Regions from separate parts of the Homo sapiens genome. Here all the other regions are linked to region 3. The links are contacts of gene promoters, found by promoter capture Hi-C in human tissues and cell types (Jung and others, 2019). All regions are on one chromosome and are shown on one strand. The core of a region is centred on a gene start or on the middle of the fragment in contact, and the rest is flanking DNA. Distances in the headings are between cores, read along the strand shown.

Evidence for each region. Contacts are between HindIII fragments. The study calls those that stand out against the background at their distance.
Region 1: a fragment that was not itself captured here is called in contact with the fragment with the promoter of MNX1 in region 3 in 2 of the 25 tissues and cell types used here (H1 embryonic stem cells and adrenal gland).
Region 2: a fragment that was not itself captured here is called in contact with the fragment with the promoter of MNX1 in region 3 in 2 of the 25 tissues and cell types used here (H1 embryonic stem cells and pancreas).
Region 4: a contact is called between a fragment that was not itself captured here and the fragment with the promoter of MNX1 in region 3, in 2 of the 25 tissues and cell types used here (dorsolateral prefrontal cortex and neural progenitor cells).

What each region holds. Positions count from the first base shown.
Region 1 is chr7:157,210,355-157,213,054 of GRCh38, forward strand. The region is part of intron 13 of UBE3C (ubiquitin protein ligase E3C); the gene reads left to right. Among named protein-coding and RNA genes, the nearest start is that of UBE3C, 73 kb to the left of the region's middle. The HindIII fragment of the contact is 4,795 bases long and covers 1-2,700 here.
Region 2 is chr7:157,147,095-157,150,009 of GRCh38, forward strand. The region is part of intron 1 of UBE3C (ubiquitin protein ligase E3C); the gene reads left to right. Among named protein-coding and RNA genes, the nearest start is that of UBE3C, 9.6 kb to the left of the region's middle. The HindIII fragment of the contact is 9,344 bases long and covers 1-2,915 here.
Region 3 is chr7:157,009,305-157,012,375 of GRCh38, forward strand. It overlaps MNX1 (motor neuron and pancreas homeobox 1), which reads right to left and starts at 1,359. Exons shown (of 3, transcript NM_005515.4): 1 at 356-1,359. The coding sequence starts at 1,046. It overlaps MNX1-AS1 (MNX1 antisense RNA 1 (head to head)), which reads left to right and starts at 1,553. Exons shown (of 2, transcript NR_038835.1): 1 at 1,553-2,003. RefSeq lists silencers at 521-570, 581-650, 1,161-1,770. The HindIII fragment of the contact is 12,613 bases long and covers 1-3,071 here.
Region 4 is chr7:157,182,326-157,185,182 of GRCh38, forward strand. It overlaps UBE3C (ubiquitin protein ligase E3C), which reads left to right. Exons shown (of 23, transcript NM_014671.3): 8 at 1-3; 9 at 1,553-1,704. Among named protein-coding and RNA genes, the nearest start is that of UBE3C, 45 kb to the left of the region's middle. The HindIII fragment of the contact is 6,873 bases long and covers 1-2,857 here.

The DNA.
Region 1 (2,700 bases), core at 98-2,597, 200 kb after region 3:
GAGCTGAGCCCCCAAAATAAAAATCACTGCATAATTTTTGAGTAATCAGCTGCTGTTAGCTGTTCTTTTAAGAAAATACTATCTCTATTATGAAGTTGTATGAACTTACACCTCTGTAGTTAACTGTGTTTTAGGCAGTATTCTAAGAGTTTTGCATATATTCATTTAATACAATAGTTCTGTGAGAAAGATACTATAATTTGTTTTACAGATGAGGTCATGTATATGATGGTAGAACCAGCTGCTATTCTACACTCCCCTTCTGAAAAGAATACAAATTGTATCAGCATTTTTCATATTATTGTTGTGCCAAATTTGAGTTGAAGAATTCGAGGTAGAATCAACCAAAGAACGCAGAAGCGTTTAGCCCATGATCTCCTGCCTTCCATTGATTTTGACAGAATTGCAAACGATGAGACCTGACTCCTTCAACACCGACCATTTTCATTTTTCAGTCCTATCATGGTCCTCCCAAAGTCATTTGTGTGAGAGGCTCTGCTGGCTGGTCACAGAGCATAGAATTTTAAGTGGATAGAGTCATCTTTCTTTGTCACTGTAAGAATTGAGGTCACTTTCTAAGCCCTGTCTTGACACTGCTAAAACAGTTTATGCATTTATCAAATTTATAAACTCCTCTTGAAGTGTAATTTAGAGCTATAATTACTTTAGCTTGATGAGATAGGAAATCCTGTTTTGAGATGTCTGTGTGCATCCACCAAACTTAACAGGAGTTTCCTCCTGTGATAGGGAAACAGGAGGAAGTGGCAGGGAATGAGGAGGAAGGTTCCCATGCCCTCATTATCCATATGTCTGGAGAGAGAGAGAGAGAGAGAGAGAGAGCCATACTATGAGTGATTTTTTTACTTCCTTAGTGGTTAAGTTGTATTTTTTCAGTTCCAAAAAGCTATTTTTAAAAAGTAATAAAGCAACAGCAGTGCCCTGTTAATATAATCCTAACATGCGACCATTTGACTATGTTACAACCAAGAGATCCAAAGCTTGTAGCGCTGTGCCTTATCCTTTTCTGTTATTGAAGATTTTGATTGATTTTGTTTTTGTTTTTTGACTACTAAAGTGGATGCTATATGCAGTAATTTTATAGTGTTTTAAATATGTGCTGAAGAATACTGTTTTTCAAAATACTCCAGTTTTTAACCCGTTTGTGCCAGAGGTTGCGAATTTTTTGTGTGAAAAATCAGGCCTTGGCAATGACCTTGAGCAGTAGAATATAAATCCCACAAGCTTAGCGTTCCAGTAATGGAACACTAGGCATAAATGGGTTAACAAGTGGTAACTAAGGGCTATATAAAATTTGGTTAACCCTTGACAGCAGCAGTGCATACCAGATACTTCATGACTTTCATAGGTTAGAGTGTTTTATTCTCAGTTATTTGAACACTCACAGTATTCATCCCACCCATAGTGACACAGCTCTATGCTAAGGGATCATAAATGAATTCACACAGGGTGCCTGTTCCTGCAGTATCACCACGTAGTGAAGGAGACATGCATTCAGCTAATGACAGTGGGAAACAGCAAACCACAGAGGCCGGTCCTGTGGAAGCACACAGGAGAGAAGCACCAGCTGCTGCGTCATCTGGCACTTGACTCACTTGAGGAAAACGGTTGTTTTCCAACGAGGTCATGTTCTTAGAGCTTTTTCTGACATGTTACTTTTATATATTCTTCTTATGAAGTCAAATTGTAAAAATCCATTCTCATTTGATGTATTTCCCACATTGCACATTTATTGCACTTCAGAACCTGGAAATTGTATGCTAAGTATGCTTTGTATTTTGCTTTTTAAAGAACTAACTCATCTGGTTTCAGGACTAGATCTACTGTAGAAAGAAAAAAAAAAATTAACTCAGTTGTTTGGTTTTAGTTACCAGATTTTACATATCACATTTAAGATAAAAAAGATACTTTTATTTTATGTTATGATGCAATTTAGTCTTTCAGTTGCCCTTCAAAACTTGGACTATATGTACTTAATTTTTTGGTTGCAATACTATATCTAAATATCCGTCATCTCCATACAGAAATGTCACAATTTAGGATTAATAGCCTTGTCATCTAATTTATATATACATTTGTGATAATATAGCTAGTGCGTAAGAATATTTCCCCAAGGTCAGTTAAGCAAGATTTTCTTATGATCATCATTGCCATGAACTCTCAAACATAGCGATCTTGTGAAAACAGTGCCTGTTAATTTACAATGTTTACCTTGAACAGTTGTCAAGTGTGATTTTTATAAGGAGTTGGTATGTTTCTAAGCAGTTATCTACTTGATCTTTTTAATATTGGGGTTAAGGGAAACCTGCTTACAGCATCACCTATTTTTCATTCAAATGGCACATAATAGAGCATGTGTAACAGTTGTGTACCTTTGTGGGGTTTTTTTGTTTTTTGTTTTTCTTTTTGAGACAGGGTTTCGTTCTGTTGCCCAAGCTGGAGTACAGTGGCTCGATCTCACTGCAACCTCCACCCCCCAGGCTCAAGTGATTCTTTCACCTCGGCCTCCTGAGTAGCTGGGACTACAGGCATGTGCCACCACACCCGGCTAATTTTTGTATTTTTTGTAGAGATAGGGTTTCACCATGTTACCCAGGCTGGTCTTGAACTCCTAGGCTCGAGTGATCTGCCTGCCTCGGCCTCCCAAAATGCTAGGATTACAGGTGTGAGCCACCACGCCCG
Region 2 (2,915 bases), core at 363-2,862, 140 kb after region 3:
TTGTGCTGAATTGGTAGATCAAGTTGGGAAAAACTAAAATCTTGACAGTGTTGAGCCTTCCTATCCATGAATATGGAATATCTCTTAATTTGTTTAGTTCTTTTATTTCTTTCATTGGTTATATAATTTTCCTTATATATACCTTATACCTATTTTGTTAGATTTATACCTAAGCGTTTATTTTTAAGGGGTGCTAATGTGAATGGTATTGTGTTTCAGTTTCAAATTCCAGTTCATTGCTTATTTGTAGAGAAGCAATTGACTTTCATGTACTAACCTTATGTCCTGAAATCTTGCTATAATCACTTCTTAGTTCCAGGAGTGGTTTTTTGGTTGATACTTGGAATTTCCTGCACAGATAATCATTTCATTTGCAACCAAAGACAGTTTTATTTCTTCCTTCCTGATCTGTATGCCTTTTTTTTCTTTTTTCTTTTCTAAGACCATCAGAAAGCAATGTGTTTTATTGTCTTACTGCATTAGGTAGGATTATAGTTGAAAAGGAGTGGTGAGAACTTGCCTTGTTCTTAATCTTAGTGGGAAAGCTTTGAGTTTCTCATCATGAAGTATGATGTTTGGTGGGTTTTTTGGTAGATATTCTTTATCAAATTGGGGAAATTCCCCTCTATTCCTAGTTTGCAGAATTTTATCATGAATGAAGGTTGGGTTTTGTCAGATGCTTTTTCTGTATCTGTTAATGTTATGTGATTTTCCTTCTGCAGCTTGTGGATATGATGGATCACATTAAGTCATTTTAGAATATTGAGCCCGTCTTGCGTATCTGGAATAAATCCCACTTGACTGTGATGCATAATTCTTTGTATACGATGTTAGATTGAGCTTGTTGATATTTTGTTCAGGATTTTTGCATCTCTTTTGATGAGGGACATCAATTTAGGGTGTTTTTGTGATGTCTTTGTCTGGTTTGGTATTAGGGTGATACTGGCCTTATGGAATGAGGATACTCTAGGGCCTACCAAAACCAATTACTATAGTTTTTTTGTTTTATTTTGTTTTTTTGAGACAGAGTCTCCCTCTGTCGCCTAGGCTGGAGTGCCTGGAGTACAGTGGTGCGATCTCACTGCCACCTCCATCTCCCGAATTCAAGTGATTCTCCTGTCTCAGCCTCCCAAGTAGCTGGGCTTACAGGCGCCCACCACCAGGCCTGGCTAATTTTTTTGTATTTTTAGTAGAGATGGGGTTTCGCCATGTTGTCCATACTGGCCTTGAACTCCTGGCCTCAAGTGATCTGCCCACCTCAGCTTCCCAATGTGCTGGGATTACAGGTGTGAGCCACCATGCTTGGCCTCAATTACTCTAGTTTTAATTCCTCCCCTATGATAGGTCTAGACTGTTAAGATGGTAAGAACTTGATTGCTTAGTTTTGTAAAACTGCCCTCTATTATATAATTGAAGGGATTACCTAGTTTTGTAAAACTGCCCTCTATTATATAATTGAAGGGATTACCTAGAATATTTTAACTTAAAATGTTTTGTGCTATTTTGTTTTAAAAAGCAGAGGTGTAATGGATGTGATAGTATAATGCTCCATATACATTGTAGTGGAACATAAAAACTTTTTCTTACAGATCTGGCATCAAATAAAGTCAAAATATTTTCTAAGATCAAATTAGTTCTTTTTTTTTTTTTTTTTTCCTTTAAGAGACAGGGCCTCACTGTGTCGCCCAGGCTGGAGTGCAGTAGCTATTCACAGGCATGATCATAGTGCACAGCAGCCTCAAACTCCTGATCTCCAGCGATTCTCCTGCCTCAGCCTCCTGAGGAGCTGGAACTCCAGGCTTGCCACTACCCAACCCCAGCCTGGCTCTGAAAATGTTAATTGACTGTCAGGACTGGTATTATTTAGCAACACTGCATTTGTTCCTTCGAATACAGTTATGCTGTATCCTTTACATGTAGGAGCAAAAGACTGTAGTTCCCTGCTATAGATAAGGTTAAGAATTCTTTTTTTGTTTTTTGAGATAGAGTTTTGCTCTTGTCGCCCAGGCTGGAGTGCAATGGCTCAATCTCGGCTCACTGCAACCTCCGCCTGCCAGGTTCAAGCAATTCTCCTGCCTCTGCCTCCGGAGTAGCTGGGATTACAGGTGCCTGCCACCACACCCAGCTAATTTTTCTATTTTTAGTAGAGATGGGTTTCACCATCTTGGTCAGGCTGGTCTCGAATTCCTGACCTCAGGTGATCCACCCACCTCAGCCTCCCAAAGTGCTGGGATTACAGGCGTGAGCCACTATGCCTGGCCAGGAATTCAACCGATTTTTAAAAATAGAAACCAAGCGGAATGGAAGGAGTGAGACTTGAGACTAATTGTCTCATTGTCTCATTTTCTTTGGACATTAAATCTGGGCCTACAGGGAGGTGAGTAAAGCACCATACAGTATTTAAGGAGGCACTTACTCTCAGGTTCATGCACAGGCGGACCCTGCACTGGCACATCCCTGAGAGTGAGTGCCTCCTTAAATTTGTGCCTTAAGCATCTGGCTTGCCTCATGATATCCCCTACTTGGCTTTAACCACTTGAATGTGTGCTGATTTTCTTGAGTTACAGTGTGAATTGCCAGCTAGGGTCCTTAAAAGGTTGAAAAAATAGATGGTCTCATAAGACCATAGAATAGCCTCAAAAGAAGTTCTTGCAAAAGCTGTAAGGAGCTTCACTCTGTGACTTTTCTTTAATTCTTCTATTATAGAATGTAGGCACCTAGGAATTTGGAAGTGGGGCATCTTATTCTTTGACTGTGACCCCTGTTTTTTACTGCCTTTAAAGCAGCTGCTTTCTGCATGTCCTTGTTCTCCTGTCTCAGGCCTCCAAATGCCGCCCTTTACCATTTGTCAGCATGAAGGAGAAGCCATGCTTTCCATAGCCCATCACCTTCGATGGTGGTCAAATTACAGGCTG
Region 3 (3,071 bases), core at 109-2,608:
CCATTCCCGGGCCTGCCTAATTCAGGGCGCTCTCGGCTCGCCTTCCCCCGGCGACTTCCTTCTCCTGCAGCCTTCGGGTTAATCATTAGATCTCAGTCTCACACCTCCAACTGCCCCTTCCCGTTAAGAGAGGAAGAGAAGGCAAGGCCTGCGCATGGCCATTTTAATAATTCGCTGCCCGTCTCATGCCTGGGGGTCCGGGCGAGTCCTCGCAGGCCCCGGGCAGAGCCGAGGCGGCTTCGCAGCTCTTCCCCCGCTCGCTGGGAGCCAAGCGCAGAGAGGGGCAGGCGGTGCCGGTGGAGGATGCGCGAGGCCCTCCCGCCACGCGCATCCACGGGGGCCGCAGGGTACTCACAGTTGAAGTCGGGCATCTTAGGCAGGATCATGCCCGCGGTGGACGCGCGCAGCCACTGGTCCAGCTGGAAGGTGCCGGCGCCCAGCTTGATGGGGTCGGCGGGGTGCGCGGGGTGCGCGCCTTGCACCTGCGGGTACGAGTAGGAGAGCGCCGGGTGCTGGCCCGCCAGCGCAGCCGCCGCCGCCGCCGCGGAGTAGCCGTAGACCGGGTGGCCGTAGAGCGCCGCCTGCGCCGGGAGGCCCGCGCCGCCCTGCGCGCCCCCAGGGTGCAGCCCCAGCGCCAGGCCCCCAGCGGCGGCGGCGGCGGCGGCGGCGGCGGCAGCGGCCGCTGCGCCCGGATGCGCGTGGTGGTGGGGCCCCCCGTGCCCGCCGCCCGTGCCGCCGCCGCCGCCGCCCGCGCCCAGGAAGCCCGGCTTGGGCAGCAGCGCGCAGTGCGCGGCCAGCAGGCGCGGCGGCGACGGGCTCTCGGCGCGCAGGCGGTCGGCGGGCGCAGCCGGCGGCTCCGAGGACGCGGGGCTGCAGCTGCCGCTAGTCCCGCCGCTCGCCCCGCCGCCGCCGCCGCCACCTCCGGTGCCAGATGCGGCGGCGGCGAGCGACGTGACCAAGGCCAGCGGCGCGCTCTGCGCAGAGGCGGCTCGTGGGGGGTCCACCGCCAGCAGGGCGTCGATGCGGAAATTTTTGGATTTTTCCATCGGCTCGTTTGGGGCTGGCGCTCAGGGCCCGGTGGCGGGCGACGCGGCCGTGTGCGGGCTCGCGGAGTCAGTGCGTGCGGTGCAAGCCCGGGGGCTCGGTATTGTTATGGTGGTTATTTGCCAATAATCAAAGTCGCCGCCGGAAACTCAGCCGAGGGTGACCATGGTCCCGGCGCCTCCTCCGTGCGGGCCCCGCCCCGGGCCGCGCTCGCACAAACTCCCACGCGAGTGCTTCCCCGCGTCCGGGCCCGGGAGCCCGGTTCTTTGCGCTGCAGCCCTCAGGCGACCGCGCGGAGGCCGCTGCCGCCGTGGTGGGGACCCGCGCCCCTCCGCGCACTTGAAGCTCAGCGCGGCTTCCGATTGGCGCGCGCAGCGGGGGCCCGGGGAGGGCCGCGGGCTCCGCCATTGGCCGAGGGGCGCACCTGTCACCGTCCCGGCCGCCCGCCGCCCCGCCCCCGCGCCGCGAGGTCCTAAGCAGCCCGGGCTGTTGCGCGGCGCTGGCGGGCGGGGACACCAACGGGGAGTGGATACTCCGAGGCTCAACCTGGGGCCTCTGCCCGCCCTCCCCTGGGTGCGGAGCCGGACGGCGGGCACTGGCAACCCCCGGGCCCCTGGAGAGCCCCGCGGCGGCCCAAGACCCGCTCCCGAGACACGTGGGCCCCTCCGGACTTGGTTGGTCCCTGGAGCCAGCTGCGCGCGTCCTCTCCGGCCTCCTTGTCGGCGCTGGAGTGGGTCCACGTCTGCCTTGCGGAGCGCGGTGGTTCCACGCTCCTGAGCGCCCACGCTGCGCAGACCTGGCCGCTCTGCGAGGCGACGGCAGCGCACTGAAGACCGTGGTGTTTCCCAAGCCCTCCCTGCTCTCGGGCCTCCAGGGCGCAGCAGGGGAGGGTTTTGTCCCCGTGGCCAAAGCTCTGCAGGTCGAACCTTATCTGCTATGGGAAGGCCCCGCATTTTCAGGTGTGTGTGCGGGGGTGTGGGGGTGTAAACGCGCATGTGAGTGTGAGTTTGGCCTCCACGAATCCTCTCTGGGAGCCCCTGCCCCAGTCAAGGCGGAGACGGTAGATCTGGGCGCTCTGGCCTGCAGAACCCAAGTCGGCTTGCAGACGTCGCCCACGTGCCTGCTCAGTGGAGCGGGTCCTCGGTGACAAGGCTCTTCCTCGCTGCCGAGGGATGCCCATGGGCTTGCGGGAGTCAAGGCCCACACACCTCGGCCCTGAAAAACCCGTGGGGCCCGGCATCCTTCGGAAGCCCTGCCGCTGCGACCCCCGGCCAGTCCCCGGGCAGGAGCGGGGAAAGGCTATGTCTCTCGTGCTGCCGGGGCCTCCTGGGAAGTGGAGAGGAAAGGGCTTCCCGTGAGTGAGCGAGGCACGGAGTGAGCATCCAGGTCTCACCCCTCCCCCACACGCACACTTCAAATATTTACAGTAAAACCACTTCCAAGGGCGTTTTTGAAGCTGAAAGAATCCACACAGGGGTCGGGAAGTCAAGCGGCATCAACACCAGGCTTTGTCAATAGCGCCATTAGACCCAGTTATCTTCCCCAGCAAGCGTGAGAACTGGGAGGGAGTTCCAGGTTCCAGGGCTTGCTATGCAGGTGAGAGGTGAATAAAGGACCGGAAGGGGCTGTGGAGAGGGGAGAGAGCCAAAGAGAAACTCAGTGCCAGGTAAACTTCAAAATTAGCACGCCAGGTTGCTACAAGAGGGATTTTTAAAAAGGCAAATATAGAGACCTTGCCACTTCTCCTCAAAAGGCTTTTGACCTAGGCGAGAGTTGATGACAGTGACTCTGTTGCCATGAGTGGTATCGTTTTCATTATAACACAGGGTAGTTCCCAGATGCACAGGACTGGTTGGAAGGTTAGGAGGATGGCAATGGATGAGTAACTGCAACTTGGAGTAAATGTGATCTGGCTTTGCAGAGCCGACCACTGGTAAAAAGAAATCCCAGGCATTCACATGGAGTTTGTCGTGCCTTTAGATGTCTTTGTGGTGACACAAATGCAGTTCTACCTCTCACTGGAGAGA
Region 4 (2,857 bases), core at 181-2,680, 170 kb after region 3:
TGGGTATGAAATACAAGATCTTTTTTACCTGAACACACATATGGGTAGCATTGGCAGATGAGTCAAGAGAAGGCCATGCAGTGGCAGGTGTTATGGAAAGGTGGGCCTCTCCTGGAGGAGTGTATTTGCTGGAGGGATGTGGTCTGGGCAGTGTGTTCCTGGGGACAGTTTCCAGATACAGTGGAAAAGACTGACATATATATGTGTCTTATGAGGCCACACAGATTATTTTAATAGAGTTAACAGAGTTAAATGGGAAAGCTCTTCTGTGAGTCAGGCCTGTTTCCCTCCCTCTGCTAAATTTCCAGTGTGCCTCTTCTAGAATAACATCTTCCTGTAGTATGTTTGAAAACATACATACATACATACATGCATGAATTATTCATGAAAGAAATATAGGAAAATGTGAAAACCAAACTTTTGGGGGTTGGGTGCGGGGGGGTATATAGAGTCTCGCTCTGTCACTAGGCTGGAGTGCAGTGGCTCCATCTCAGCTCACTGCAACCTCCGCCTCCCGGGTTCAAGTGATTCTCCTGCCTCAGCCTCCTGAGTAGCTGGGACTACAGGTGCACGCCACCACACCCAGCTAATTTTTGTATTTTTAGTAGAGACGGGGTTTCACTATGTTGGCCAGGATGGTCTCAATCTCTTGACCTCGTGATCCACCCGCCTCGGCTTCCCACAGTGCTGGGATTACAGGCTTGAGCCCCTGTGCCCAGCCCAAACTGTTTTTCTTACTCTCTCACTCAACACTGAAAAATTCTGTGAGCAGAAATGTGGGGTTTTTTTTCCCACACACCAAGCAATTCTTCAGTGGACACCAACTAGGTATTCTACAATTCAGTTCAATTCTGATGCCGTCCACCCGGAGATAATGTCAGATCCCATCATCTGAGGGCTTAGTCCTGCAAGACTACACCCACTTCAGAGGCCGATTACAAGTAGTAGGTTGTCACCTATACTTCTGACCAACCTGCAAAAATGGGGGTTCCTCAGCCCCTCCTTGGGATTGGTAATTGACTAAGACAGTTCACAGAACTCGGGAAGTCGAGGTGTGCGGGAATGGGGAGCTTCCATGCCTTCTCCAGGCACTCCACACTCTCGGCACCTCCCTGTGTTGAGCTCATTGTGTCTTCCTGTTGAGTTTTATGGTGCTTCTTCTCCAGTGTCCCTCCCACAGACAGCCCCTTGGAAGTTGGTGCGTGGGGCTGAAAGTTCCAACCCTCTGATCACTTGGTTTTTCTGGTGAAAAGCCCCATTCTGAGTCCCCTAGATGGCCTCACCATAAGTCACCTCAAGTATGATCACAAAGGGCTGGCTATGAATAACAAGAGACTCTTTATCTTTCAAGAAATTACAAGAGTTGTAGGTGCTTTCTGACATGAACGGGGACAAAATCTAAATATGTTTCCTATTATAACACAGTTAGAATTTTAAAAATAAGATCTGGTCAGAAATGCCTCTCTGCGTGTGAGGAAAAATGGCGTCTTCGTTTTCCATTTTAAAAAATAATGTTTAACTAAAATACGTTTTAACTGATTGTTTTGCAAAGGGGCCCTCTCTGAGGAAGGGCTGCTGGTGTATTTGCGGGTGCTGCAGACCTTCCTCTCTCAGTTACCAGTCTCTCCTGCCAGCGCGAGCTGTCACGACTCAGCCAGTGACTCTGAGGAGGAGAGTGAAGAAGCCGACAAGCCCTCAAGCCCGGTAAGCCCCGTGCCCTGCATCTGGGGGGCTGCGATGCAGGCAGCCCCGTCGGATCTTCTAGCTTTCTGTCCACCCGTAGTTTCAGTTACACAAGTCAGACCCTCAAGCAGCCTTTGCAGAGAAGCCCCGTCAGCCCCACTACCACAGTTTCTAGTGATGGGAAAGTCTCTCCCACCGCTTTGTTAGCACGTTCATGGAAGTGTAAATGGAGACACATAGCTTTGTGTTTGGTTTTTTAGGCAAAATAGGATCATACTATATGTTAACTTAGTTATTAGGAAATATTTTCTGGAAGTGAAATTGTTGGGTCAAAAAGATCCTTTTTACCCTATCCTGTGAACACCGGGTAGTGTCTTCCATTAATTCCTGCTGATTTTATAGAGGATAAATGTTATTTACTTAAAAATTACTTTCAAGTTCTTATCTCTTTTCTTCCTTACTATTGAGTTTACAGTATATTTTCAGGGAATAAAAAACTTTAAAATTATATATACATGCATACATAATTTGTGTTTTACTTAAAGAATTTAACCGCCAATGACTTTTTTTGGTCTTAAGCAATTGAAATGGCTTGAGGTATGGCTATCATAAGTTGTTATTTTTTCATTAAGGAGTTTTATATTGATTACTACTAAGTGTAATCACAGAATATACTTGAGAGGGTCTCAGGGCTTCCAGGTGAAGTAAATTTTTAGAATATTGTGAAGTGGGTGTGTCAGTGCAGTGCTGCACCTTCCTGGACAAAGAGCTTCACTAGTATCGAATGAAAGAGATCACAGCAATAAGAAAAGGATCGATAAGTCAGCTCAGGGCTTGATTTTTTTTAAAAAATAAGAGAAGACAAAGAAAGGAACAGAAGATATTCACTGCCAGGGCTCATGGCTGAGGGGTGGGCTGATGACAAAGGAGTGAAGCCGTTTTTATAGTGGACAGTGGATGCTGGAACTGTTGCATCTGTCCAAACTGTACACCAACAAGTATTCATTTTTTTGTATGTTTATAAAAAAGAGTGGGTTCTGTAGATGGAATGTAGATAAATTTTTGTTTTTGGAAGAAAGTTATTAAATAGTCACCTCCCATAGAATTTGTGAAATTAAACCCTTATTTATATGCAGTGTATTTTGTATTCATGTGAAGATGAGGCTGTGGGCTT